Regions from separate parts of the Homo sapiens genome. Here regions 1, 3 and 4 are each linked to region 2. The links are contacts of gene promoters, found by promoter capture Hi-C in blood cells and fetal thymus (Javierre and others, 2016). All regions are on one chromosome and are shown on one strand. The core of a region is centred on a gene start or on the middle of the fragment in contact, and the rest is flanking DNA. Distances in the headings are between cores, read along the strand shown.

Region 1 (5,675 bases), core at 654-3,153, 73 kb after region 2:
GGTTGCACCCCAGCCTCTTGCAGGGTCAGGCAGCCAGGCTGACTCTTGGCTCCCTGAGAACATCGTCCACGGGTTCCAGCAGACCATCTCAATGCTGTGTGTGCCAGTCTGCCTGCAAGCCCTGTAAGGGCAGGCGCCTCATCCTGGTCACGTCTGCCACAGTGTGTGAGAGCCAGCGGGTCTGATCGGGGCTGCCCTGCTGGCGCTGCATCATGGAGGAGCCTGGCCCAAGCCACACCAGTGTGCACCGCAGTCCCGCTATCCACGGCGGCGCTCTCTCCTCCATGCACACGCTGTGTGTTACAGCGAGCCTGGCCATCCCGGATGCAGGACACACTGCCCGAGATGAGAGCCGTTTTCATCTGCATTCCCAGGAATCACTCTTAAAATACCTCCACACAGAACTCTCCTGTAGGAGAGGATGACAAAGTTTTCAGACCCACATTTGGCATTATTACTGAGCTATTTGTATTCGGGAAGATCTAAAATGAACCCTTTCAAAAATCCTCAATGTTAAACCATTTCTAGAGGTGTTCAACTACGCCTACGTGGGACAGATTCGTCTCATCACTTCATTTTGACTTTCTGATAGGTGATGGTTAGTTCTTTTAGTGCCTATTAAAATTCAGCCTTAAGGTATTGTTTTTTTCTTTCAGAAGGACTTCTGCTATGACGAGTTGAGGGGCCCAGGGTGGGACCCCAATGGTGGGCCACACCCCGTATGACACTAGGGATGCAGCTGTTAAGTCTGGAAGCTGAGGGCTGTCAAGCACAGTCTCCTGAGAGGCAACGAGTTGTCGTACAATGTAAATTCCCAGGTTGCTTGCCTTTTGGCTGAGGATATAAAGCACAGGCTCTGCCTTAAGGTAAGGCAACAAGATTTCCAGGCCTCTGAAAAATTTGGTACATGGTGTCCTTTCTGAAGTAGCAACTTTTTCAGCCTCCTGAGTAGCTGGAATTATGGGTGTGAGCCACATGCCTGGCTTTTTTTTTTTTTTTTTTTGAGATGGAGTCTCGCTCTGTTGCCCAGGCTGGAGTGCAGTGGCGCAATCTAGGCTCACTGCAAGCTCCGCCTCCTGGGTTCAAGGGATTCCCTTGCCTCAGCCTCCCGAGTAGCTGGGACTACAGGCATGCACCACCACGCTCAGCTAATTTTTTGTATTTTTTAGTAGAGACGGGGTTTCACCATGTTAGCCAGGATGGTCTCGATCTCTTGACCTCGTGATCCACCCGCCTCAGCCTCCCAAAGTGCTGGGATTACAGGCATGAGCCACTGTGCCCGGCCATGACTAGCTAATTTTTTTCTAAATTAATTTTTGTAGAGATGGGGTCTCGCTATGTCACCCAGGCTGGTCTCCAATGATCTTCTCACCTCTGCCTCCCAAAGTGCTGGGATTATGGGTGGGAGCCACTGCACCCGGCCTGATGCAGCAATTTTTAAGAAACTTTTTCTTTTCATAACATTTCTTTCTTGTTCATAGAAGTACACAAGCATATTGTACAGATTTAGAAAGTAGATAAAAGTATAAAGGAGAAAAAAGCTTCCCATAAATCAACAACCCAAGGGAGCTGTGTGAACACTTCATACTTTGGCATATGCTACTTCCAATTTTCTCCATTATGCTGTCATCCTAAAAATGCACATCAACAGCTCATTCCCAGGTCTTCACAACATTCTCTGTGGAAAAGAGGCCTGAGTTTGCTAAGACTTCGGATCTAAAGTGGATCCATCATCGCCATTTCTCACAGCCAGCTGTGCTAGAACAGTCACTGTGCCTCGTTGCTTCAACAAATAGAACAGCGGTCCTCTGCTCTGCCTGCCATCCAGGTCCACTGCCACAGCCCTGGTTGACCTGGTGGAAATGGGACCTGTCTACAGACACTAAGAGGACTTCTGGGGCAGAGGTGGGCCCCAGGCCCTGGGGACACATGGGGCCACACCACTGCGGCAGGGTTTGTCAGGCTTCCTAGATAAACAGCTTGAGGGGTTTTGCTTTTTAAAAGCCATTTATTGATCTGTTGTCAGTCTTGACTCACAGGCTGCTCCTGATCAATACATGCTGGCAACGTCTACAGTCGCTCGTCATCAGATCTGTCCCAGAGCCAGGCTGTGTGATCTCACTGTGGAACTCAGGGTGGTAATGCTCAACCAAGTCTTCTTCTCAAAACCATGCTGAGCATTTTGAGACTGAGCAAGAGCTTTTCAGGGCAGGCCCCCACTGCTAATGACAGGAGACGGTGCTGTGTCCCAGTTCCACCTTAAATTAAGCTTACCGCCATTCCTTCCTCTCCTCATTCAACAAATAGAGTCAATCATCGCTGTGAGCTGACTCCATATTTGAGAATTCGCCTACTCGCTAAAATACATTTGTAATCCCAAAATCAATATGCATGGTGTTGGCATGGTCATTTGCAAACACGTGCAGGGCAGCAAAACATTTGAGTTTCCCAATGTGCAAGTTCCCAGCTGAGGTCAAGCAGTGATGCGCCGCCTTATTGTTTTAGCTCTTACACCGTATACAGTATCTTTTTTGTAGTCTACTCAGTGCCACATTTTGGGGCACTAGGTTTTCTTGGTGATTCTGCTGGTTAGGCTGCCAAGTGGAGTGCTGATGTGCTGTCTAATGTTCCTAAGCCCAAGGAGGCTGTGATGTGCCCGATGGAGATAATGTGTGTTTCAGATAAGCTTCATTCAGGCCTGAGTTACAGTGCCGTTGGCTGTGTGTTCGGTGTCAATGCGTCAACAATATATACTAAATAAAGCATCTTTAAACAGAATTACACCTAAAACAAGGTTATGTGTTGATCTATTGATGCTGTGGCAGGAGACACACAGGAAGCTAACCTTGCATTTCCTCCAGGAGCAGTGGCTCAGTACTTGCTAAGTTAGCTTGCAGTGACTTCTCAGAGCATAACTTCCTTAGACAATGAGAACGGACTGGACCTGGTGGGTGCCCACTAGGTGCCAGGCCCTGGGGAAGGTGCTGAGTCTAGACAGGAATGATTTTTTTGAATCTTTCTCTCCAGTGCATGGAGACAGGCTCTCCTGCAAAAGCCATCAGGACCAGAGGATCTTCTGACAGCCACCATGGTCCACAATCAGGAATGAGTTCCAGAGCCTGCTGAAAGGGGACACGGCAGGGCCTCTGGGGTGCTGGTCTCATTCTGTTTCTTGGTCTGGTGTATTCAGTCTGGAAATGCACTGAGCTACACACATAGGATCTGTGCATTTCTCTGTATGCATATTATTCTTCAATTAGAAGTAAAAGCACACAAATAACAAAACCCCCCCTAAGACAGGAGTCACTAGGTGCTTGAGAGTGACCAGGAAGAAGAGCCTAGCTCCCTGTGCACATAGAGAAATGAGGCAAGTTTGCACCCAGAGCTGTTTCCACACTGCAATTAAGCAAGGTGCCCCGGATGCCCTCACCAGCAGACCCTTTCCACCGCTTCACTACCCCACAGCTTCAAGTGCACCCTCCGTAGGGCCTCACCCCCTTTGCCTTTTCTAACCACTGCCTCCCCTCATCCACACAATCTCCCTCCTCCTCCACCCTCCAGAGCCTCCCCTCCTCTTGCTCCACTTCCTCTCCTAAGTGGAATTGCACAACTCAGCGAGTGCAGAGGATCTGACTCCACACAGACTCACTTTGCAGCCTAGGGGCAAACAGAAGGACACTGTTTCTGGAAGCTTCTTTCCCAGCCACCAGCATGGGGCTGCCAGGGCCAAACTGCCCTCATCCCTTACCTGACTCCCAGGTCAGGAGGCACTGCCAAGGGCTCCTCAGCCGGCTCTCCTGCTTTCCCAGGCCAGGCTTTCTGTGGTTTGAATTTCCCAACTGATGCTCAGAAACCCGCCTCCCGCTGGGCCACATATCTCTTTTCACACAAGCTTCAACTCCACATGGCAGAAAGACAAAAGCCACTGCTGCTTTAACAGCCCTGGTAGCACGCTTCTATCATTAAAAGGCGAGGGAGTGAGGGCCCAGAGGGGCCGTCTTCCCCGGTGAAAAGGCTGAGGGAGACAGAGAGTCTCCCAGTGGCAGCATTTATTTACGAGGGCCTCATATGGTAGTATATCCATCATGGGGTGGGGTGAGTGTCAGTCCTTGTCCCAGGGCAGGAGTTTGCTCAGGTCCCCATAGTAGAAACTGATGTGAGTTTTTCCCAAATGGGGCCCTGGGGTCTGCTTTGGTTGTTGTCAGGGCCCCAACTATACCTGCTTTGGGGATCTATTGCTCACAGGTAACATCTGTGAGAAGGCATTCATAAAGAAAAAACAATCGTTGAGTCACATCTGTGTTTGGGTGTGTGGAGTGAGGCCAGGAATCTGGCCAGCCATGTGTATTGGGGGCACCCCAAGGGGCAGATGCCTTACCAGGCTCTTTTCCTGACTTCTGGGACAGCTGCCCAGCACTTGGCATGTCAAGGTTGGCAGACATCCCAGGGTGGCCTGGTCCAACCTCCACATCTCATAGTGGAGATCCCGGGGAGCCAGGGCCGGGCTCAACGGCACAGAGTTGTCAGTGGAGGAGCTGGACTGAAAGCACACTTGCTAAACTGCCGCTGCCTGTGCAATTAAAGCTAGCCTCTCGGCAGGAGGCAATGACCACTCTACCTCCACAGAGACAGCTGGTCTCCGCTCCCAACCAGCTGATATAACTGTGACCTCACAAGGATATGGGGAGGGAAAGGCACTGTTATTTAAAAATAACTTTGAGCTAGAGCACGATTGAGAAAAAGGTGAAAAATTATTCTACTTACACTTTGAAATGTACACAAACACCTCACCTTAGATTCCTTGTCTCCCCATCTCAGATCTCCAGGAACTGCTGGAATTCTACAAGAACTGTCTAGGGTGGCCAACAGAAGAGTAAGTAATCCATTCCAGGGGCAGCTATTGTCCTTGGAGCTCAGATTTCCCTTTCTCTATTACATCTGGGCCCTCCTTCACTCAGCACTAGTCAGGTAGGGAAGTTTCTCCCGACCAAAGAAATGTTCACAGCTAAGGTTTATTCCATCTTTGTCTTCAGAGCAGTATCATATTCATAATGACCCTCACAGCCCTCCTTGCAACGTAAGGATATTTTCAATCCCCATTTTGGATATGGGACCACAGAGTCTTATGGAACAAAGTGACTTGTCCAGGGTCCTTGGCCAATATGTAACAAAGCTGGGATTTGAACACAGACCTCTTGATCTCTAATTTTCATTCACTACATCACATACCATCTCTTACTAAGAGGTATGACCTCATGACTGTCCTATAAAACCACTTCCTCCCCATTTTAACTTATTCATTGAGTGGCAAACAACAGTTACTCAGCCTTGGCACTGCTGACATTTTGGGCTGGATAGGTCTTTGTTGTGGGGAGCTGTCCTGTGCACTGTAGGATGCTCAGCGTCTCTACCTGCTAGATGCTGGTATACCTCCCTTCCCCACCCTACCACAGCGGTGTCAATCAAATATGTCTCCAGGCACTGCCAATGTCTGCTGGGGCCCATGCCTGCCCCAGCTGAGAACTGCAGTGCAGCATGACACTGTGGAGCGTGGGCTGCAGTGAGTCTATGTGGCCTCCACCTCTCCTCCACAGTTTACTAGCTACATGCCTTTGTGCAAGTTCTTTAACCTAAGTTTCTTTTCTTATTTACTAAATAGAATTGTTGTTGAAAAT
Region 2 (6,129 bases), core at 824-3,323:
TTACTAAATACAAATAAAGCTTGTAAAAACATTCCGTAGAAATGCATAGAGACAAGTAAATGAACTCTAAAACCAAAGTAAACTATTGATATACTACCCCTAATATATGAAAAAAAAAAAATACTGGATCCAGTAAGTTATGAAACTCTGAAGATACTTACAATAAATTCTACTAGCAAATAAGCCCTGAAATTTTGCAAGAAAAATATGCGTGTTTTACTCAGTAAGAATGTAGTCATACATTTTTAATTAGGGTTTCCCAGCTAATAAGTTTAACTGCACGGCACAAGTGAAGAAACTCTTCGGACAAGAGTAAAACCAAGGATCTACTCACTCTTCAATTATGAGACATAATTCACAGGCTGGCTTGTAAGACACAGGTGACCCACATTTTTATTAGTGTCCACATTTGCAAAAATTTTAATCTAGCCCCTTAATATTCTCGGAGACTATAATCTAACACGTTTGAATCTTTAACAACAACAAAAAAAGGTAGTGGCTAAAATTGCTAGTCATTTCTCCACCCTCCCAAAGGTGAATGGAACTTTCAACTCTAGACATCAGACTGTTTTGTTAGCAATCCTTTAAGGGCTTCAGTCTTCATTTTATTATTGGATACAAAACCTTTACTTATTTTAAAGTGTTCTCTGAAATACTCAATATAGTCCACGGCTGAGAACACTTTGCCGAACGTTTGGCATCTTCCTTAATCAGCATCCCACAGACAGGGTAGAGGTGACTTAAGAATGAAAGGCACAATAATCCCTGATATCTGGAATCAATAAAATCCATGACGTAAGCCTATATAACTTTACACACCACAATTGTGGCAAAATTCATTTATTTGCCATTTATAAACGGGTCAGTAGTTTTCTTTAATACAGCTTACGTAATGTCATCGCCCAGTGCGTTTTCGGGTTTACACGTGTGGGTTAAAGAAATCTATGTCAAGATAACCTGTTCATCAAACTGTTTTTTAAACATTCAGAAAAAGAAACATAAACCACAAAACGCATATTTTTATTCTAAATTTACAGTCTACGTTCCAACGAACGACTGTCATTATCTTTTATCAAATAATCTGTCCAACAGCAAAAGCACAACAGCAAAATACGTGGAAAGCATTCAAAGCATACATTGTGCCTGCTTCTATTTTCCAATGCGGAATGTAGGCAATGAAACCGCTCCAGAGAAACACACTGTTGCGAGGAATAAAGGCGGGTGTGCAAGTGGCTCGACTGCCAGCTCAGAAAAGCTCGCCTCCGAGATGTCACCTGGCACACTTGGTGGAGTCACCGAGACCCAGCCTCAGGGTCCTACTGCAGCTTCCTCATTACGGAGAGAGCTGAGGCCTGGGGAAACGGGGGCTGCTCTTTCACGCGGGCCCCGCAGCCCTTCACTTTGTGTGAAAATTCCCTGCGAAGGCTGCACGGCCGGTCCCCTCGGGAGCAGCCCCTGCCCCTGCGCCTCGGACCGTCCGGCCCCGCCCACCTGCCCCGCGGCCCCCGCGAAAGCGCCGACTCCCGCGCAGCCCCCGGGTCCCACAGGCAGCTGTCCCTCCCCCTCCGCACCCCCCGGATCAGCACTTTGCTCCACTTTCCCCCAAAGTCGCCGAGCCCCGCCACGCCGGGGAGCGCCAGGAACGCACCAGGCGCCGAGCCGGCCGCAGAGAGGGCGCGCGACCCCGAGGGGTGCGCGGTGCGGGGCAGGGACGCTGGGAGGACGGCCCGGCCCGCGCCCCGCCGCCCGCCCCCGAGGCCCAGCCGCTCCCGGAGCCGGCCCCGCGCCCAGAGGCGCCAACAGCTCCCCCGCACAGAGCTCCGGCCGGGCCGCGGCGCAGTAGGCTCCTTTACCAGCAGGTGGATCTCCCGCAGCCCGGGGCCGCCAGCCCGGCCGCCGGCGCCGCCCCCAACTCCCGCGCCCTCCGCGCAGCCGCCCCGCGCCCCCTCCCGCCCCCGCGCGCCGCCGCTGCCGCCGCGAGCCCCTCACCCGCCGCTGGCGTCGCCGTGCTCCCGCGGCTGCCGGCGGAGCTGCTGTAGCCGCCGCCGCCGCTGCCGCCGCCGCTGCGGGCCGCCCCGCCCGCCCCGCCGGCTCCGCCCCCGCCGCTGGAGCGCCCGCCCCGCCCCGCCCCGCCGGGCCGCCCCGACCCCGCCAGCCATTGGCCGGCCCCGCGGGCCCCGCGCCCCGCGCCCCGCGCCCCACCAGTGGCCCGCGCGACTGTCACTTAGGGGCGCCGCCACGCAGCCTGCGGAGCGTTCGGGAGGCTGGCCCGGCTCATCGGTGTCACGGCGAGGTCCGGAGCGGAGCCGCGGTCTCGGGTCCCAGCTCTGGGCGCCGGCCTGCTCCCCGCCGCCCCGCTGCCACATCTGGCTGAGATCCTCCCGGCGCGTGCAGGGACCGCTCCGGCGGCCAACAAAGGCCCGGGCGAGCCCTCGGCCTGCGCCTCGGCGCGCGACCCGACCACCCGGGGCTGCCCCAGCTCCCAGGCGCCTGCCTGCCTCGACCCGGCCCCTTCCCAGCGGCGCGCCCCGCTCCGGGCCGCCCAAACTGGGCGGCCTCCCCGGGGACAGGTCCCGGGCCCAGCCCCACAGGAGCTCCCGAGGCCCCGCGGACGGTCGCGACAGCCCCAACTTCCCGGTGAGAACCCCGCGAATCGGCCAGAAGGGCTGATTTCAGCAACTGGGAAGGAGAAAAACAACTAGGGTTTCAACGCACATCGTTGGGTGCTAATGCCCCTGATTTTCCACTATGCCCCGTTTTCTTGAACCCCATGTCCTTATCTGTCGCCGTTTCACAAGGTTAGAGGTTAACTTCAAAGGCAAAAAACTGACTCGTTTGTAGAAAGCCTGGGTGGTCTGTCCCTGTTTTTCATAGTATCCATAGGACTTGTGCTAACAGTAACTACCCCTGGGTACGTCCTCTTTTGAATACTTAACTGTATAGCAGGCAACCGTATAGCAGGCATGGGTGTTAGATCGTTTATTGCATATCTCATGTTTTAAATTTATTCCCCATTTTTCATAAGAGGAAACTAGCTGAGAGGTGAAAGGGCTTGCCCAAGGTCACACAGCTGGTAATGGTTCAAAAACAAGGGATGTGTTAACTTTATTGCCGCAATAATCCTTACAGCAATCCTACCGAGTAACCTGTAAGGGAATTGAGGGGCCAAAGATCAAGGAGGCAGCCTTGTTCCTGCCAAACTCCCAAAGTAATAAGTAGATTCTTTTCAGAAAACAGTAATTTCAATAATCGAAAACTCTTAAGAGGCATCAATCAGAACAGGGTCCCCTCCCCACCTCCGATAAATTCCATTATTTTTATCTCAAGATAAGAATAATTAATAATCAGCTAGAACATGCATGGAGTTATCAGCCTTCCCATGTTGAGGTTTCTCCATGACGGCTAATTTAAAACTTCAGGAAGAGACACGTAACATCCCTGCTCCCATAGTCTCTTACTAGTTTAGGGGAACCATACCAAAAGATCTGTCCACTGCCCAGCACTGTGGACACAACTTGGGGGATCACAGCCATGATATCCAATGACAGCTCTTCCCTCTACTTTGAGTGTGTTTTCTCTCTACTTCCGGTTTGGCTGTGTCCCCACCCAAATATCATCTTGAATTGTAAATCCCACAATTCCTGTGTGGTGGGAGGAACCTGGTGGGAGGTAATTGAATCATGGGGGAGGGTCTTTCCCATGCTGTTCTCGTGATAGTGAATAAGTCTCACGAAATCTGATGGTTTTAAAAAAGGGAGTTTTGCTGCACAAACTCTCTTTGCCTGCCACCATCCATGTAAGAAGTGACTTGCTCCTCCTTGCCTTCCACCATGATTGTGAGGCCTCCCCTGCCATGTGGAACTGTAACTCCATTGAACCTCTTTTGTCCGTTGCCCAGTCTTGGGTATGTCTTTATCAGCAGCATGAAAACGGACGAATACATTGGGGACCTGAAAGCCAGGTTTCCTGTATTCTATGACAAAGCCATTGCCAAGTAGCAAGCTGGCAATTTGATTCATGACCAGATGTAAACAGAGGTAAAGACTGAGACCATTCCAAGGTAAAGCTTTTAATACATTGTTGGATATATCCTGCCTAAAATATCTCCTAGGAATAGATGATTCTAGGCTTTGCTATTACAGTGCTCTTAATGACAGACAAGCAAACTACTTCTTGCAGAGGAAGAAAGTCCTGCCATTTGATAACATCATGGAGAATGCCCCCAAGCCATTTTCATGAATTACCCAAAAGACCAAATGGAACAGGAGCTATTATCCCTATTTTATTCACGAAGAAACTGAGGCCCTGAGAAATTAAGACATTTGACAGATACAAACAGTAATTTAGGCAATTAGTAAATGTTTGAATCAGAGTTCAAATCCAGGTCTGTTTGATTCCAGAGCCCCTACATCACCCCTCCAGACTATCTCTCTGCTCACATCTTCAGCAAGTTACAAAATTTTGTTGAGTGGATGAATATTTTTACATATATTTCCCAGCTGGGCACAGTGGCTCATGCCCATAATCCCAGCACTTTGGGAGGCAGAGGTAGGAGGATTGCTTGAGCCCAGGAGTTCGAGACCGGCCGGGGAAACAGAGAGAGACCCATGTCTTTAAAAAAATAAAAATTAAAAATTAGCCTGGTGTGCATGCATCAGTAGTCCCAGCTACTGGGAAGGCTGAGGCATGAGGATCATTTGAGCCCAGGAGTTCCAGGCTGCAATGAAATATGATCATGCCACTGCACTACAGCCTGGGTGACAGAGTGAGACCCTGTCTCTCTCTCTCTCTCTCTCTCTCTCTCTCTCTCTCTCTCTCTCTCAAAAGAAAGAAAAAAAAAAGCCAGGTGTGGTGGCTCACTCCTGTAATCCCAGCACTTTGGGAGGCTGAGGCGGGCAGATCACCTGAGGTTCAGGAGTTCAAGACCAGTCTGACCAACAGTGTGAAACCCTGTCTCTATTAAAAATACAAAAATTAGCTGGGCATGGTTGTGCGTGCCTATAATCCCAGCTACTTGGGAGGCTGAGGCAGGAGAATCGCTTGAACTCAGGAGGCAGAGGTCACAGTGAGCCAAGATCGCGCCATTGCACTCCAGCCTGGGCAACAAGAGTGAAACTCCATCAAAAAAAAAAAAAAGATGTTTCTCTTCACCTTCTCCAGTTTTTTCTCTTAGTGAAGGAAGGAAATGAAAGCATTTACAGACATTCTATAAGCAGAGGCATATGTCAGAGGAGAAAGGAATAGGGGGAAGGACAAACTTCAGTTATAGACTCCACCGGCTTATTCAGATAAAAAGCGGAATTTCCCCTGCACTCTGGGTAGTGGAGGAAGCACAGCAGAAGACAAAAAGTGTACAGGAAAAACACAACTGCTTTCACTTGGAGGCTTTTTTGATACTTCGTTGCTGCTTCAACTGGCAGCAGAAGGGCAGGTTTTGGAAAATAGGGTTACACTTATCTCAAACCATATACATTGTAGCTCAGGAAAGTCTGGATTTCAGTGAGTTGTCCCAAGAAACTGGAATGCCATAGAATATATTATTCCAAGGTATAGGGTATAATTGGTTGATGATTCATGTTAACTTAGCAGAGTTTATGATCCTGGATTTTCCAACTAAGTCCATAGTATCTGTTAATAATCAAAGACAATCCATCCAAACCCCACTGAATCCCATTCCATATCTTTTTCTCTTTTTAATATTGTTGATGATGATTCTCCTCCTCTATCACTTCCTTTTTATTTATTCTCTACTTCTACAGTTTCTGTTTCTGCCTTTATTTCTCAGTGGAATTGTACCCAAGAGGTTCTGCCAGAACTTTACCATTTATTTTGTAGTCTGTCCCCAACAAAGCTTCTATGTTGAGGCTGTTTTCCTTTCCACACACATTTTTGCTGTTCCACAAACTTTTTCTGAGTGCCTATGATTACAGAGGCAGCTGTTATCTAACCACAAAGTGCTCACAGTAGAAGAAATGGGTAAGTAATTAAACCATAGTACAATGCTACAAACGCACAGTTCTGGGACAGCCGATAGGATTAAGCCATCTGGGGGCAAGGAAGCCTTCCTGGAAGTGATATCTGAGCTAAAAGCAGAGTACACACAGGGAGTGAATCTTTTCCTTTTATCTC
Region 3 (6,395 bases), core at 1,162-3,661, 100 kb before region 2:
CCCGAGCAGCTGGGATTACAGGCATGTGCCACCACACCTGGCTAATTTTTGTATCTTTATTAGAGACGGGGTTTCACCATGCTGGCCAGGCTGGTCTTGGACCTCTGACCTCAAGTGATCCACCTGCCTCGGCCTCCCAAAGTGCTGGGCTCACAAGCGTGAGCCACCATGCCCAGTTTAGCAAAAACGAATTTTCAAAGTGATAATAGCTGTTGAGGGAAGTTCTCATTTGGGAAAATTTCAATCTTGGTCCTGAACTCAAAAAAACTGCAGTAAATCTCTACCACTGCTAAGCCACTGAACTGCTGTGTGGCAGGGCAAGTCAGGATATTCAGTTCCTATTTCTGACAAAAATTCACAGCATTTGTGATGGCTAAGTCCATGAGAGTGAATAAGGTTCACTGTTGACACTTTTGTTCAATGACATATGACACATTCAAATCTTTTCTGCAAAGTACCTGGCTGATGAATAATAAAATAAATAACCATAGGCTTTAAATACCTTACATTTTTTTCAAGCTTTATAAATTAATGCAACTAAGCCATCTTCTCCACAAGTATTTTTTTTTAGCACCATTTGTTTAAGCACATCTTAGCAGATTCTACTTCAGGTTGTACTGAATTTGTGTTTTCTCAGCCTGTGTGAAAATACTCTTCTCTGTAGTTGTTCTAAACAGACTATTTACAGGGGCCAACCCTCAGTGTCTTCAACCATGGCACTGATTCCAAGTAATAACTGAGCAGTACCAGTGACAACTCCGTCAATTCCTCAGGAGCCAAGAAAAACACTCAAAATAATCTGCTTTGTTTTTTGAATACTGATATTGCTCCCAATGTCCTTAAGTCTTCAAACAATTGTTATTGCTGAAAGCCTCCTATCCTTAAATAAGTTTACTTTCTCTGCACACATTACTTTGGCTGCTGCTATTAACCATGATTTAATTAACTCGTGATTGGTAAGTGGTTTTTCTTGCTTAGCTAAAAAATAAGCCACTTGAAATACCACTTTGGGAACAGCCTCATTTTTATTTTTAGTGAAGAAATTCTGCTGTGATGAGATATTCCATTCTAAAGTTTCTAACTTTTCTGACCACTGCTTTCCTGTGAGTTGGGAGTATCATTGTATTTAGCCTAATAACGTACAGCTCTCACATAACTGCACAATAACTACAATGACTTGCCAACAATTTTGTAACATAACCCACATTCTACAGTGTTAAAAGCCACAATGCTCAAAATCTACTTTTCTTGTTTTGATGATGGATAAGTACTTGTAATTTTTTTTTAAGTCAGAGTGCCATGATATGTGTGGCTCTCAAAATACTGTCCAATTATAAATGCATCATTGTGATCTGCAGTACTCTAAGCAGCAGTGCAAAGCCGGGAGAGCATGACCTCGATCTCTCCTGCACCTACTCACTCATCTTTGCTGTTGGAGAGAAGCACACACGCACACACTACATTAGAAAATGAGCATGGCTGTCTTCCAAAAAAACTTTATTTATGGACACAGAAATCTGAATTTTATATAATTTTCACATAGCACAATGTATTCTTTTTACTTTTTTAGCCATTTAAAAACAAAAAAAGAAAAAGATGACTTTTTAAAAAATGTTCTTAGATCACAGACTATTCAAAAACAGGTGGAGGGCCAGATGTGCCCCATGGACCGTAGTTTGCTGACCACATGCTGTTACATTATGCAATCCATTGTCCAGTCTCACAGCATAGTTAATAGATTAATAATAAAATAAGGTACATTCAGATTGAAAACCACAGCAGAGCAGGCTTGTACTAATTTATATTGTAAATGTTGAACCTATGAGCCTCCAAAGTAATGCTTTTATTCAAAAATTATTAATAAACTTATTTCATAGAAGTTTGTCCATACTTGGTGCTGGACTTGGGTAGCAGGTAGGTGCTACCAAAAATTATTATTGAATATTGAATTAGGCATGGGATTCAGATCTTAAAAATATTGCAAAACTTGGAACATTTTAACCAATGTGACATTGAATACTGTCACCTGATGAGCTCATTTCATTAGAAAAATAATTACCAAATGATAAGTAGTTCATCAAAACACTCTTGCCCAGCAATTTATCCTCTCCCATGTATAAGAACAGTACATACACTACCGCAAAAGATTGCAAACAACCTAAGTATCCATCACTAGGAGCCTGGCCAAATAAATTACAATATGCTGATACAAGGGAATTTTAGGCAGCCAATTTCTTCAGTCGAAGAAAAAATAAAAAAGAATAAGCCAGCCACAGTCGCTCACACCTGTAATTCTGGCACTTTGGGAGGCTGAGGCAGGCAGATCACCTGAGGTCAGGAGTTCGAGACCAGCCTAGCCAACATGGTGAAACCCCGTCTCTACTAAAAATACAAAAATTAAGCCAGGCATGGTGGCCTGCGCCTGTAATCCCAGCTAATTGGGAGGCTGAGGCAGAGAGAAATGCTTGAACCCAGGAGGCGGAGGATGCAGTGAGTCAAGATTGTGCCACTGCACTCTACCCTGGGCGACAGAGCAAGACTCCATCTATAAATAAATAAATCAATCAAATAATGAAGAAAAAGTTGAAGATAATGCAGTTGAAGATTTGCTTCTCTTCCTAAGTCTATATTGTAGAGAAACTCTCATACATGTGCACAAGTGTTCAAAGCAGCCATGTTTATTACAGCAAAAACATGTACACAAACTTTATGACCAGAGAACAGATCGTGCTGTCCACAGAATCCATCCATAGAGGAGTGAAAAAGAATGAGTCGTAAACACACACACTCACGTGGATGAATCTCACAATTGTGAGGGGGAAGAAACCAAACTGTAGACCACAGAAAGATATTTATATCAAACGTGAAAACAGGCAAAATCCCACTGTGCATTGCTTAGGAATATATTCCATACATAGTAAAAATGGAAATGGTAACCATAAAATTCAGGTGTTGAAGGAGAAGAGAAGCTATTAGGGTATAGCTTTGGGGAGAAGGGGAAGAGAAGAGAAGCTATTAGGGACGGACAGCTGAATTGGCACATCTTAAGCTGGAGGGTGGATACAGGTACTCAGCATATTATTATTATTAAAATATTTTTAAATGTTCATGTTCCATACGTACATAGGCATTTTGTTCCATGAAAAAAAGAGATGTAAAACTGGATTATAGGGCGTATCATTTGTGTGTGACGATGTGTTGTTCTTAGAGAACATACCCAGATATTGTTATTTATGCATACAATACTCCCGAAGGGACACAAATCATTACGGGAACTGCCTCTCAGAAGCAGTGGGTAGGAGAAGAAAAGGGAAGAAGACTTAAGACTACCCTTTTAAATTTGTATTTGGTACTGTGTGTGTGTAATGACTTTTCAAACTACAAACTTAACCTTTGTCCTTAACCCAATGGTCTGGAAGGTAAGTATTAAGACAGGAAAGAAGAGAAAAAGTGAAGGAAATTACCAGAGTGACTGGAACCCCACACTCCTGGCATTGACAGGGACGGCCAAGGGCTACAGCCGTGGCTCCCCTCCGCCCGCCATGCCTGACCAGTGGCCCTTTCCTTCTCCCACTGGGTCTCTGCAGAAGGTTCTTCTGCCGTCTCGCAGCTTTAACCCACTGAAATAGAACTAGTATTTCTTCCACAAGACCATTCTTAGCTATCACGCTCTACTCTTCTAACCCCCACGCCATCAACCCTCGGGTCTCCACTGATGGCCAGCTGATGGTCTACTGTTCTTGCCAATGCCTTCACGCGTAAGTTGCTACCCAGTCTGATCCCATTTAAATTCAGGCCCCTCTCCAGGGCCAGTCTTGGCGACATGCAAGGGGAGCAGGGAAGTGCTGGGTAGAGAAGGTCATGAGCCCTGGCTAGAGCTCCAACCTCGGGCCTGTGCCCACCGACCTAGGTGAGGACAGGCATTTCCGTCTTCCCACCCAAATGTTGCATTTCCCAAGACCACCCTGGCCTGCCACGTCCCCATACTGTGCCTATAAAAGCCCTGAGACCCTAGCAGGCAGGCACACAAGTGGCTGGACGTGGAGGGGAAGGAAGCACACGGGCGGGCGGAAGAGCACACCCGCGGATGCTGGCAGGCCATCGATGGGCGGAATGACGCAGAATTTGGCCAGGGCAGTCGGAGGAGAGCCTAGGCAGCCCGACTCCAGGGGAAAACCATCTCCCTTCTGGCTCCCCCATGTGCTGAGAGCTACTTCCACTCAATAAAACCTGGCACTCATTCTCCAAGCCCACGTGTGATCCAATTCATCCGGTACACCAAGGCAAGAGACCCCGGGATACAGAAAGCTTCTGTCCTTGTGATAAGGCAGGGGGTCTAATGGCTGGTGCGGTGGGTCACGCCTGTAATCCCAGCACTTTGGGAGGCCGAGGCCAGTGGATCACGAGGTCAACACCAGCCTGGCCAACATGGCGAAACCCCGCCTCTACCAAAAATAGAAAAATGAGCCAGGCCTGGTGGTGGGCGCCTGTAATCCCAGGTACTCGGGAGGCTGAGGCAGGAGAATCACTTGAACCCGGGAGGCGGCGCTTGCAGTGAGCCGGGATTGCACTACTGCACTTCAGCCTGGGCGGCAAAGCGAGACTCTGTCTCCAATAAATAAATAAATAAATAAATAAATAAAAAGGCAGGGGGTCTAATTGAGCTAACAAACACAAGCCACCTATGGACAGCTAAACTAAAAGAGCACCCTGTAACACGCGCCCACTGGGACCTCAGGAGCTGTAAACATTCACCCCTAGACACTGCCATGGGGTCAGAGCCCCACAGCCTGCCCTTCTGCATGCTCCCCTAGGGGTTTGAGCAGTAGGGCACCAAAGAAGCAAGCCACACCCCCATCACACGCCCTGAAAGGTGGGTAAGGGAACTTTTCCCGTCTCAACAGCAGCTTGTTTGCACGCCAAGAGGGCTCTTACTAGCATCTCTTTCCCTAGTTCTCCCTGTTAAACTTTCCACTGGGATCCAAATTTGCTTGTCTGTAGCTAACATCTCTAATTGCTTAACACTAAAATTTCCATTGTATTCCACAGCACCCTTAGGCTGAACTTCCCCACATTCTGGTTCAAGTAAGTCATCTCCTCTTTAGGGAGAACTACAGAGCTCTCTGTTCTTCTGGCCTGCCTCTCCATTGGGCACAATCTCTGCACCACTGCTCTGGGTCCTTGGCAAGGACAGCAGCCCCTTCTCTTGGAGTGACACCTTGCTTTAGGATCAGAGCACTGGTCATGGCAGTAGCCCTTGGTTTTTGTCTTGTTTTGTTTTGTTTGAGACAGAGTGGCCCAGGCTGGAATGCAATGGTGCAATCTTGGCTCACTGCAACCTCCACCTCCTGCGTTGGGTTCAAGCAATTCTCCAGCCTCAGCCTACTAAGTAGCTGGAACTACAGGCATGCACCACCACACCTGGCTAATTTTTGTATTTTTACTAGAGATAGGGTTTCACCATGTTGGCCAGGCTAGTCTTGAACTCTTGAGCTGGTGATCTGCCTACCTTGGCCTCCCAAAGTGCTGAGATTACAGGCATGAGCCACTGCGCCCAGCCAAGCCTTGGTTTTCTTGGCTGGCTTCTGCTACTGACTGGACTGGGGCAGTGAGCTAGGACATCGGTGATCAGGGCCAAGTATTCTCACCCTGCTGTGCCTAGGGCAGAGTTCTGCCCAGATTCATCAGCTGCTCTTGTCTGGAACAGAGCTTCTGCAACAGAGTTGGGGGTAAGGACAGATGCTGGCAGCCTGACCCTCCTGGGCAGATGCCACAGCCCTAGACTAGAAGCTGGCAGGAGAGTCCAGTGTTCCTGGCTGTACCTGCACAGGGCAGAGCTTCTGTCTCCCCGAGCTGGGGGTACTGTGAGTGATAAGGCTGGTCCTGGCTCCCTCCCCGAGATCTGGGAGATTCTCATGAATAAATGTTGCTCCATTTGCTGCTAGCCCTTAGGACAATCTTCACAGATTTAAAATAGTTTTTTAAAAATAATTTTCACCAGTTATAATTGTTTTGCTAACGAGAGGGTCAAGGAAGCTCCTCATACACAATTCCATTAAAGAAGACTTCTTAAGGAAGCAGAATGTTCTACATTCAGTTGAAAAAAGATCAGTTGCTCTTTAGTTCTGTTCTGTTTGATTACACAAGGTCCTAGGCTGATGATGCAGAAGTTCACTTCTCATTCTAAGAACATATGAGTTGATATTTTAGATGGTCATTTTCTTCAATTACTATAGAGATATTTAATATAGATGTCTCTATTTCCTATGCTACTTTCATAATCTAGAACATACCATTTTCAGAAATTTAATAAGTGACAGGTAATGGGGTAATAAATGTCTCAGATACTCAGCTGATTTTGTGTATATTTCTAGAGATGGGCTAAGATACAGCCC
Region 4 (5,760 bases), core at 212-2,711, 120 kb before region 2:
AGGGAGACTTGAGACATCAGTCAATATGTGTAAAATGTACATTGTTTTAATCCAGAAAGTGGGGAAAGGCAGGTTACAGTTAGATAAGAGACAAATGGTTGCATTCTTTTGAGTCTTTGATCTGCCTTTCACTGAATACACAATTTACTTGTGAGAGGCAGGTACAGGAATAGTCATTTATGCCTTAATCTGGCTCAGTGAGTCTGCATTTTTACATAAACAATGGGGCAGAGGAAGCAATCAGATAAACACTTGTCTCAGGTGAGTAGAAGGAGGACTTTCTGTCCCACACCTGTAAAGATAAGCTATCTTAGGAATAAAATAGGAGGCAAGTTTGCCTGACACAGTTACCAGCTTGACTTTTCCCTTTGGCTTAGTGATTTTGGGGTCCCGAGATTTATTTTCTGCATACTAACAAAATGCCTGGTTTTGCAAAAATATTACAGATTTAGCCAGTTCTGCTTAAGTTGTCTGGATGATAGCATGGTTTTCTGCATTTGTCAATAGAGACCACTTCTTGATATTCATTGTGTTTAAATCCATTTAGATCTAAAGGGTTATTTTGTGGAGTCTTACTTTGAATCTTTGCATTAAATGAAGTATACTTGAAAAAGAAGGATTTTTTTTTTAAACTTCTCATGCCTTCCTACTGAGAATAAAATTCTCTCTCTTTCTCTCATACACACACACCCTCCGCCCCCCCCGCCCCCCCACCGCCACACACACACACGGGCTTTATCAGAAGGGTTCTCAGTCTGACTTTGGTTGATTTAGCAACAGCAGTGTACTGAGGATAAATCTGGTGTTTGGTAAAGTCCTCCTGTGTGGTTGGCATGCTGGATGAAGGGCAGGGGATGTGGCTAGCGATCTCAGTAGAGGACCAGTGGTTGGGTAGACATGGTGGTCATTGTGGAGAACATTTTAGTTGCAGAGAGACCTGGGTTCAAATGCCAACTTAGTTATCTGTGAAACTCTTAGTCCCAGTCTCTTCTTTTACAAAATCTAGTTAATTACCTATTCTGTCCAATTTTTGAGATAATTATGTTATGAAAATTACCTGACACAGTTAAGTGTTCAATATTTGGTAGTTACTAATATTTTAAGCAAAACTCTGCAACTATAACTTCTGATACCAGCCTTTTTTTTTTTTTCTTTGAGACGAAGTCCCACTCTGTCACCCAGGCTGGAGTGCAATGGTGTGATCTCAGCTCACTGCAACCTCCGCCTCCCGGGTTCAAGCGAATCTCCTGCCTCAGCCTTCTGAGTAGCTGGGATTACAGGCACACACCACCACACTTGGCTAATTTTCATACTTTTAGTAGAGACAGGGTTTTGCCATTTGGCCAGGCTGGTCTCAAACTCCTGACCTCAGGTGATCCTCCCGCCTCAGCCTCCCAAAGTGCTGGGATTACAGGCGTGAGCCACCGCGCCCAGCCAATACCACCCTTTTACAGGCATAGTTCAGATATGCTAGTTCCATTCCAGATACTGCAGTAAAGCAAATATCACAATAAACTGAGTCACACAGATGTGTTGGTTCCCAGTGCATATTAAAATCATATTTACACTGTACTGTAGTCTTTTAAGTGTACAATAGCACTATGGCTCTAAAAAACAATGTACAGACTAATTTAAAATGCTTTATTGCTTAAAAATGCTGACACAGAGACATGAAGTGGGCATATGCTGCTGGAAAAATGGCACAGGCAGACTTGCTGGACACAGTTGCCACAAACCTTCAATACGTAAAAATTTAAAAACTACAGTTTCTGTGAAGCGCAGTACAGTGCAGTGTGGTAAAATGACATATGCCTGTATTTTCCTTTGTAACTTCTGACTAGTACAGCAGAGCTTTTGTATGTGCTAGTTAGCCAATAAATGCTGTCCACTGTTAATATAAAATTCTAAAATCTGGCCTAGAATTAATACTAATGTAAGTCACGTATTCATTACCAAGAAATTCATGAAAAACAAATGGTGTGTTTTAAAATTTCAATAAATAAGACTTTCAAAGGAATAGTTTCATTCATAACAAGCATTCTGCCCTGAATGCAGTAATTCTGGAGGCCACTGTCTTAGTCTGTTCTCAATGCTGCTATAAAGAAATATCTGAGACTGGGTAATTTATAAAGGAAAAAGGTTTAATTGACTCACAGTTCTGCATTGCTAGGTAGGCCTCAGGAAACTTATAATCATGGCAGAAGGCAAAGGAGAAGCAGGCACCTTCCTCACAGGGTGGCGGGATGGAGTGAGTACAAGTGGGGGAAATGCCAAATGCTTATAAAACCATCAGATCTTGTGAGACTCACTGACTATCACGAGAACAGCATGGGGGAAATTACGTCCATCTGGCCCCACCCTTGACACGTGGGGATTCTGGGGATTGCTGTTCAAGATGAGATTTTGGGGACACAGCCAAACAATATCAGGCACAGAAGGGGACCAAATCAGCCTGGAGTTTAGCACATTTCATGTGAGTCTGTATCATAGTTTGAATTAAATAGAAAGGGATTCAGTGTATTTTTGAGAACCTATGTTGTGTGAGGAACTAGAAAGAGAAATGACTACATGTAATGATGACCATCACAGAGGAGCTACAGAAGCCAGCATAAGGTGGTGGTTTGTGGAGATGGGGAATAGTTGACTCCTGGTGCTGGGAATTGCAAGTGCAATGGCATAGAGGTGTGAACAGCACACTAGGTCTGGGAGCATAGGGTGACACCGAGTCACTGGGGAAGAGATGTGACTAGAGAAATTGGCCTTCATGCCATTCAGGAAAAAAATTGGACTTTATCTCATAGACTGCATGTGTGGGTTGGGGGCAAAAGGAGGTGGGGAGCTTTGAGGCTTTAAAGTAAGGAAATAATGTCAAACTCACACTATCTTTTCCATGGCAGTGGAGGAGGCAAAAGTTGGAGTAGTGAGTGGGCAAGGCTGGATACACTTGCAGAGGTCTGCGTAGGAGTAGAGGAGGCCCAGATAGTATGGTGGTGATAGGAATAGAGAGGAGAGATGGATTCGAGAGCTTCCTGAGATAACAAGGTATGAGGGGGGATCAGGAAGAGGGAGTGGGTGGGAGGCTCCTTTGGGATGACCTGTAAGATTTTGGCTTAGATGACTGAGGAAGCAGCAGATGCAGATGAAGCAGCCCTTGCTGGCCTGTTGAGTTCAGGGAGCTTCCTGAAGAGTGAAAAGAAGGTCAGTAGACACTGAGGTTGATGACTCTAGACCTAGAGGCAAGAGTCTGGGCCATGATGAGCCTCTGACTGGCGTTAATATGGAGCTGGGAGGTGAAAACCACAGTGCCTTGGAGTGCTCTCGGAAGGCACATCTGTCTTTCAGAGGAAAGACTCTCACTGAGGCCAGAAGCTTGAAAAGCGCCCATTTGGGATAAGCGGGAGAATAGGGGCAGCAGAGAACGTCTACAGAAAGGGCGCTCTTGGGGAGCGAGCTACATACTGATTCCATAAAATTTGAATGGCACACATTCTTGGCTAAAAAGGAAACTGTCTTGGTAAGCTCTAGTTTGTTCAGTATTGTTTTGGCATTTTCAGATAACGAAATGCAGGGACTGTTAACATTAGTATTGTACCTCTGTTTATTTTCCATTTTTATCCCCAGTGACGGAATAGCGTATTCTTAATTGTACCCTTGAGATGAAATGAAATAATACATTAAAAAATACATTGAATTTCCAATATATGTTTATAATACAAGTTTTGTTCTTTGAAGATCTTACTTTTCTGTTACTTGGATATTTTACTTTTTATTCATCATTGAACTGAAAAACTAGTAGGCCATGTTGTAGAACAGTGACATACACTTGAATAATTGTTCTTATGGCTGGATGCGTCACTCTTCCTAACTGCTTCTTACTATTTCATCCTCCTTTTAATAGGGGGTTGACCCAGGTCTTGGGCCTTGGGCCTGTTCATTATCCACATTCATTTTTTTGGTGACATCATTCAGGCCCGTGGCTTTAAATATTAATATCATCTACACACTGATGAGTTTATATTTCCAGTTTGGACTTGTCTTCTAAACTCTAGACATTGTATACAACTTCTTACTCCATACTAGTTGGCATCTTCAACATAACAGGTCCAAATTCAAACTTCCGCACACTCCTTCCCACCTCAAAACCACTCTTCCCACAGCCAGCCCCACCTCAATTAAAGGCAGCTCCATCTTCCATTTGTTCAAGGCAGAAATCTCTCAGTCATCCTTGAGTATTTTTTTCTCATACTCCAATCCAATAATGTCAGGAGCTCTACCTTCAGAGTATCGTGTGTGCCACATCTTAGCACCTCCACTGCCACCAGCCCCTCTGCTCATCTCTTCCTTGCAGTAGCCTTCTAACTGGTCTCTGCTGCCAGTCTTGTCTCTGGAGTCTGTTCTCAGATCCGCCACCAGGGAGGCTCTGTCAAGGCATTTAAGTCAAATACTTTTCTCAGAACTCCACAGTGGCTTCTCACGTCACCAGGAATAAAAGCCAAAGATTGTAAAACGGCCACAGGCTTCGTAAGACATGGAGCCTGTGTGACTTGATGTTGGGCCCAACCCTGTTTCTTTTCTGGCTTCATTTCTTGCTCCTTTTCTTTCAGACACTGGTCTTTTCACCATTCCTCAGGCCTGCCAGGCACCATCACTATCCTTGGGTCTTTACCCAAATGTTACTTTATGACCCTCATATGTACAATTGCATCTCAAGTTTGTATTCTCCACATTTCTCTGCTGCTTTCTCTCTTTCCATAATACCATCTGACATAGGTGTATCATTGTCAGCCTTCCTTCCTAGATGGAAGGCAGGGATTTTTGTCTGTTTTGTTTACTGGTATATCTCCAGAATTTAGAATGTCTGCCGCATAGAAAGTCGTCAGTAAACATTTACAGAATTCATTTTATTATGAAAGAAATTTTAATTTTGCTCTTAGGTTCATCTCTAACAAGTATTTAGTGAAACGACAGAGCAGAGACTATGATGTGGAATGGGGCTATGCTTTTGATGTGCATCTCAATGCTTTTTATCCACTCCTGGTCATTTTGCATTTTATCCAGCTTTTTTTCATCAACCGTAAGTAGCAGTTAATTAGAGTATTATCCAAGTCTTCATTGCATGCATTGGTAAAGGGACTCATGGTCTGCGTCTCTTCTGGCAGATGTTATCCTGACAGACACATTTATTGGATATTTAGTTGGAAATACCTTATGGTTGGTTGCAGTTGGCTATTATATCTATGTAACTTTCCTGGGATACAGTGGTAAGTAATTTTTTTAAATGTTTTTGGTTGAGAACATAGCAAGAGGGGGAAAGTTGTAACAGTAGTACAAACAGCTGCTTTTATGGAACACTTACAGGCACTATCCTAAGTATTTTATGTGCATTATCTCATTTAATCTTCATGACAATTACACAGGTTTGTTTCTGTTTTCAAATGAGGAAACTGAGGCAGAGAGATTAAGCAACTTACCCATGGTCATGCAGCTAGAAAATGGCCTAGCTGGTATATAACAGATTTTATACTTTCAAGGAAACATGTTAAACCATACTGGTTATCTCCAGATGACTTGCAGGAATCCAAGACCATTCACTCCTCTTCTCCCATGCTTTCAGGTTGTGGGTTACCAGCAGGAGGGTAGAGCGAAGAAAGGTGGGGCCCAGCATCTTGTTACATAGGTCTATGAACTGAAGTTCTCTAAAGCCTTTTGAATCATAACTTTTTGCCCCATTCTTAGTTTTCATGATTACCGTATGGTTCT

Evidence for each region. Contacts are between HindIII fragments. The CHiCAGO score rates a contact against its expected background, and 5 or more counts as called.
Region 1: a contact is called between a fragment that was not itself captured here and the fragment with the promoter of MGAT4A in region 2, in 11 of 17 cell types (total CD8 T cells, non-activated CD4 T cells, monocytes and 8 more). The highest score is 10.5, in total CD8 T cells.
Region 3: a contact is called between a fragment that was not itself captured here and the fragment with the promoter of MGAT4A in region 2, in 1 of 17 cell types (non-activated CD4 T cells). The highest score is 6.0, in non-activated CD4 T cells.
Region 4: a fragment that was not itself captured here is called in contact with the fragment with the promoter of MGAT4A in region 2 in 5 of 17 cell types (non-activated CD4 T cells, total CD8 T cells, activated CD4 T cells and 2 more); the score reaches 9.7 in non-activated CD4 T cells.

The regions. Positions count from the first base shown.
Region 1 is chr2:98,802,015-98,807,689 of GRCh38, forward strand. The region is part of intron 7 of CRACDL (CRACD like); the gene reads right to left. Among named protein-coding and RNA genes, the nearest start is that of LINC02611, 33 kb to the left of the region's middle. The HindIII fragment of the contact is 728 bases long and covers 1,540-2,267 here.
Region 2 is chr2:98,729,059-98,735,187 of GRCh38, forward strand. MGAT4A (alpha-1,3-mannosyl-glycoprotein 4-beta-N-acetylglucosaminyltransferase A) reads right to left here and starts at 2,074. Exons shown (of 16, transcript NM_012214.3): 1 at 1,990-2,074. It overlaps LOC107985922 (a long non-coding RNA gene), which reads left to right and starts at 2,223. Exons shown (of 2, transcript XR_007087150.1): 1 at 2,223-2,637. RefSeq lists silencers at 2,082-2,411, 2,432-2,621, 2,728-3,022. The HindIII fragment of the contact is 4,047 bases long and covers 18-4,064 here.
Region 3 is chr2:98,627,498-98,633,892 of GRCh38, forward strand. All of the region lies in intron 14 of MGAT4A (alpha-1,3-mannosyl-glycoprotein 4-beta-N-acetylglucosaminyltransferase A), which reads right to left. Among named protein-coding and RNA genes, the nearest start is that of UNC50, 22 kb to the left of the region's middle. The HindIII fragment of the contact is 3,789 bases long and covers 518-4,306 here.
Region 4 is chr2:98,611,273-98,617,032 of GRCh38, forward strand. It overlaps UNC50 (unc-50 inner nuclear membrane RNA binding protein), which reads left to right. Exons shown (of 6, transcript NM_014044.7): 4 at 4,935-5,074; 5 at 5,160-5,261. Among named protein-coding and RNA genes, the nearest start is that of UNC50, 5.6 kb to the left of the region's middle. The HindIII fragment of the contact is 3,811 bases long and covers 1-3,367 here.